2 separate regions of the Homo sapiens genome follow, and region 1 is linked to region 2. The links are contacts of gene promoters, found by promoter capture Hi-C in human tissues and cell types (Jung and others, 2019). All regions are on one chromosome and are shown on one strand. Each heading gives the region's core, a stretch centred on a gene start or on the middle of the fragment in contact. The rest is flanking DNA. Distances are from core to core; before and after follow the strand shown.

The links. Contacts are between HindIII fragments. The study calls those that stand out against the background at their distance.
Region 1: a fragment that was not itself captured here is called in contact with the fragment with the promoter of SNAP25 in region 2 in 1 of the 25 tissues and cell types used here (stomach).

The regions. Positions count from the first base shown.
Region 1 is chr20:9,958,986-9,961,685 of GRCh38, forward strand. No RefSeq gene overlaps it. Among named protein-coding and RNA genes, the nearest start is that of PARAL1, 26 kb to the right of the region's middle. The HindIII fragment of the contact is 7,805 bases long and covers 1-2,700 here.
Region 2 is chr20:10,217,405-10,220,120 of GRCh38, forward strand. It overlaps SNAP25 (synaptosome associated protein 25), which reads left to right and starts at 1,426. Exons shown (of 8, transcript NM_130811.4): 1 at 1,426-1,573. It overlaps SNAP25-AS1 (SNAP25 antisense RNA 1), which reads right to left and starts at 2,102. Exons shown (of 5, transcript NR_040710.1): 1 at 1,833-2,102. The HindIII fragment of the contact is 5,357 bases long and covers 1-2,716 here.

The DNA.
Region 1 (2,700 bases), core at 136-2,635, 260 kb before region 2:
TATTTCTTTTTTTTCCTCTCCTATTTCCATTTCTATCTTTACATTCTTTCATTTGTGGAAACATTTTCAACTTTATTTTCTGATACTTCCATGGAGTTTTTAAGTTTGTTCTCACATTTTAATTTCTAACATTTAAAAAAAATGATTTGAAGTTTTCTTTTAATATCTTCTTCTATTGTTCATAAATACAATATTTTCTTTTATGATTTGAGCATATTAATGTAGGTGTTTTAAAATTTCTTCTCATTGCATAATATGTTTTCTCCAAATAGATTTTTTTTTTTGGTCTATTTATTTTGGTCTTAATCTTTTATGATAAAGAATTTCCTAAGTGTCTAGTGATCCTCAACAATCTGCTTATGTTTAAACCTAGGGCCCTGAAAGCTCATTAGATGCTCTGAACCAGTGGATGGGCTTTGTTAACTCTGGGCTTTACCATGGAGGTGTCTAAGGGAGGTTTCTGAGATAATCTTTAAAGTCAGAGTTCTTAGCTCTTTCTCCTTGGGCTGCTCAAATTCCCCAGAGAAAAACTTTTAATTTTGTACCTGGATGATATAGGCCTTGCTGCCAGCACTCTGGGAAATAAATGGGAAAAGAAGGCTGGAGATCTCAGAGTTAAGTATGCAAATACAGGACCACCACTAAGCTGGAAGGATAACCAAACATCATGGTTTGCCCTGGACTGAGGAGTCTGCTGGGATGTGAGACTTTTAGTGCTAAAACCAGTATGGTTCCAGGCAAACCAAGACAGTCACTTTAGCCTGGACAACATTCTTAAAAGGACCTTTCTCTGGCCCTTCTTTGTTGATACCTTTTCCCATAGCCAAGGGCACCATCCCCCGTTTGTAGACTGTGTTTCAGAATTCTGCCAAGTGGCCTCAAGCTTGCTTCCAGGGACTATGTGGGCCTGTTCCCTCAGTCTGTCCCTCTGAGGATGAACAATTTTACCAACCAGTGTATGCACCCCTGAAACCAAGAGATATACAAGAGTGTCCATTTGCAGGAGTCTGATAGAGCTTGCACAGGAGGGCTGGGTGTCCACAGGTGCTCATTCAAGGCCCTGACAGTCAAGAAAGAAATCAGGGTGTGAAGGCAAGGAAGGGAGGCCAGGGCCACAGCTCCCATGAATACTCTTGCTTTGGGCTCTGAAAACGTCAGATGCAGGCCTGGACCTTCCTGTTTTCACTGTACCTCCAACCCTCCAGCCCAGAGACTTTTCAGTTACCCTCTCCCACTACTAAACTTCCGGTATTTTACCAGAATGAAGAAAGATGATTGCCTGGCCACAAAGAATGGACTGTAGGATCTTGCAATTGAACTCAAGAGACTTCCAATCAATCCCCTGTTATGGCGCCACCTTCTTCCCCACTTCCAGGGATACCCAGTACTGCCAACTTCTGAGCCTGCTGGAGGTCAGTGGCTGCTAATTGGACTGCTTCTCCTCAGTCCCCACTTGAGGCTTATCACTTGACCTTCTTTGGTTTGCTAAGTCAGGTTCTTCTGATTCACCCATTTTCTAGCTTCCAATATTTTATGTTGTAGCTGCCTCTCCTGTCCCTTGTACTAGTAGGTCTTACTCCTTTTTTTTTTTAAATTGGTTTACTCATCATTCTCAGCAAACTAACACAAGAACAGAAAACCAAACACCACATGTTCTCACTCATAAGTGGGAATTGAACAATCAGAACACATGGACACAGGGAGGGGAACATCACACATGGGGACCTGTCGGGGGTTGGGGGCTAGGGGAGGAAGCACATTAGGAGAAATACCTAATGTAGGTGATGGGTTGATGGGTGCAGCAAACCACCATGGCACATGTATAACTACGTAACAAACCTCCACGTTCTGCACATGTACCCCAGAACTTAAAGTATAATAAAAAACAATTGGTTTACTGTTACATGAATAAGGTTTACAGAGGGACAGAAAATGATTGTTTTCAATCACATATCTCTATTAGGAAGTTGAAATGTCAAAATATTTCCAGCAAAAGAGTAAATAGGAGGAAAAATAAATAAATTTGGGCAAAGATATGGGTGAGAAAATGGGAAACAGTGAATCCTTGTTTGACCCACTAACGAAACAATATCCCAAAATTACATGAGATAACATCTACCAGTTTGTTTGTCACCAAATTCATTATATCAAGCAAACATGCATCTGCTCTGGAATGGGCGGAGAAAGCAAAGGGAATTGAATTTCTTCCCAAGATATTATTTCCAGCCTCTCCTAGTGATAAGCTGTGGTGATTGTGCTACTTTACATATGGTTGGAGGATAAGAGCAACTACAAGCTCTTAAATAACACATACATCTAAAACAATTTTTTTAATTAAGTGTTTGAGTATGGCATTGAAAAAATGGACCATAGCCTTACTTTAGCCTAAGTTCCTGGGTAGTGAAGACAGTTGGCAGCATATTCAGGGCTAGAATCCTCATGAGTGTGGTGGGACAGGGGATCATCCATGCACCCCCTACAGCCATCACCTTGCAACATAAAGGCAGGCCCTGGCCAAAGGGAGTAGCAGGTATTGCCATCAAGGCCAAGCCAAGCCTGCATTGGCTCAGAGAAAAGGAACTGACTTGACAATATGCCTAGTGTGGATTCATGTAATGCATTATTTCACTGAAAACTTCTAGATCTCATCTTACATGCAAAGAATGAAATGCCCAAAGGGGTTAAGTAATTTACTCATGG
Region 2 (2,716 bases), core at 176-2,675:
TCCGAACCCAGCTCTAAATGGTTTCTCCTAAGCGAGACAAGGATTTTCCATAGCCTAAAAGAGGCCATCAAGTTTTAACATTGCGAGGCACGACTTCTAATCGCATCCTTCCCGGAAAAGTACAAACAGTTCCTCAGACGAGGTCCCCCACCTCCCACGCGCTCCCCAGCCCTCCCTCCCTGCGGAGAGCCCCGCGACAGCCTCCCCAACACCTGTGAATCATCCGGGAGGCTGCCACCGCCGAGCGATCCGCGCACCACCCCCTTCCCGGGCCCGGGCACGGCCAGGGAGGACAGTTAGGGTTGTTGCTTTATAATTATCACTTTTAATCTCTAATACGACCAGCACAAGTAGCCTTTGTCTCCCCGCCCTGATTTGAGCATCCGAGGGCCCCCCGAGGCAGCCTGCACGGGTACCCCGGGGTTTGCGCACTGAGTGAACCCCCAGATTCGGCCGTGTCCCAGCCGTCCTTGCTCTGAATCCCCCACCTCCTCCCGGCCGTTTGGACGGTTCCCTCGGGGCGTCTGTGCCTCCGTGGGGTACCCCTAAGACACCCAGCATGAAACCCCAGCACCGACTGCAAATTCCACCGAAAGCAGAGTCATCCGTTTTTGCCCTCGGCAAACAACTCAACTTCAAGCCTCGAGTCCTTGCAAACCCACGCTGGCTGGGCTAACTCCGCTTCCCTTCTCCTTCCCCCGACTCCTGCAACAGCTCAGAGAGCCTGGCTCTGACGTAGTTCAAAATAACGTGCGCCAGCCTCGCTGCCCGGCTGACCACAGCAACGAGAGCCACAAGCCCTCGACGCTGCTTCGATAACATGAAGCAATCACTCATAAAAATAGCAACCCACGTAGCCTGGCCATATATGGAGCTGGCGAGGGTGGACGGGGATGCCCCTACGGACCCTCTTCGGAGAAAACAAATCGCCGCTGAAATTTCCCCCACCCCTCCCATCACTACCTTTTACCCCTCCTCTGCCTTCCCCTCTCCTTAGATGACTCAACCACAGATTCCACTGAAAGGGGGTGGGGGTGGGGGTGGGGGGGAATATATACACATACACACAAATTATACATATATTATACATGTATTATAAAATATACACACACATACATATATACATACACACACATATACACATATGTACACACACACGCACACACACCAAAGAACATCAGGAATGCAGTTGCGGGATGAACGCGTTTGCCCAAGACCGAGTGTTAAAATGGAGTCATAAGAGTCGCCCCGTGCGGGTGTTTATAGAAGGTGAAAACACGCAGGTTTGCAGGCCAGCGCACTGGGAACCGAGTCAAGCGCGCCGCAGCCCGGGCCCCGCCCCCGCCCCCGCCGTGCCCCGCCCCCACTTCCTCCCGCCCCTCGCTGGGCGGCTATTAAAAGCTGCTGACGTCAAAACGGACGGCCATCTTTGATGAGGGCAGAGCTCACGTTGCATTGAAGACGAAACCTCGGGGAGGTCAGGCGCTGTCTTTCCTTCCCTCCCTGCTCGGCGGCTCCACCACAGTTGCAACCTGCAGAGGCCCGGAGAACACAACCCTCCCGAGAAGCCCAGGTAAGAACCCCCCTCCCCAGGTCGTGGCTCTGGCTCGGGATGGCTGCATACCCAGAAGGGACAGCAGCTGGGCAGTCCGAGTGGGCTTGGGTAAATACAAGTATTGGTGCACTTAGGGTGCGGTATTCCGTGTGTGCACGTCTGGTGGGGGCTTTATAAAGTGTTTTCGAGGTGAGCTGCTGGGGAAAAGGGAAACGGGAGCCCTGCAAATGGAGCGACGGGGAGGAAGAGCGAGGGTACGTACCGAATAATAACTTACTCTTTTGAAACAGTAGTGGGACCCCCTCTTTCTTCCATTTTGCGATGCAGTTTTCAGAGATATTTAGGCTGTTGAGTTTTCCTCCCCTGTCGTTCTAACCCTATTATTATGACTGTTGTCGTTAGGGTGCTATTATCCAGGGAAGAATTAAGGGGGAGACAGGGTGTGGGTGCTGGGGAGGCGAAAGGAGAAAGGGGGAGTTCCCGCCCCGGGCAAGCTGAGCTGCTGCAGCGACAGCAGCCTCCATGCCCCGCGGACTTGATTTATGCCGCCTGCTCCACGTCAACTGCAGGCTGGCGGGAGGCGGGCGGGTCGTGCCGGGTGGGAGGGCTCTGCGGAGGGCTGGCGCGGGTGGGCTGGCTTCGGGGACTGCGGCGGCCCGCGCTCAGCACCCTGGATAGCAACACCGAGGGCTCGCGCGGGCGCCCTCGACCTTTCAGCACCGGGGACAGCGGTCCGGCCGCAGCGCCTCATCTGCCTGCGGCAGAAATGCCTGGCCGGGGCTGGATGTGCCAGGGCTGGAGACCAAATTGTCTCCCTGAGACCCCGGTCTTACGGAGACCCTTAATAGAGGAGTCATAGTAGCTTAAAAGAAAACAAGAAAGAAATAAATCTTCCTCACAGAGACTCCTTTGCAGACAATTTCCTGTTCCCCTCCTCACCTCCTGCATAGCTTCAACAAAATAGTCTACTTGTGGAAATCTTCTGTGTTGCCCTCTGACCCTTATTTTACGTAGAAAATAAATACATTTTTTAAAAAATATGGATTTATCCTCCAGCAGGGTATCAAGGTTTTTGTTTGGTTTTGTTTTTTAACACAGAGTAGATCTGTCTACAGATCTTGGGTGAGCATAAGTACTGTATATATGAAGAAGCCAATGCTA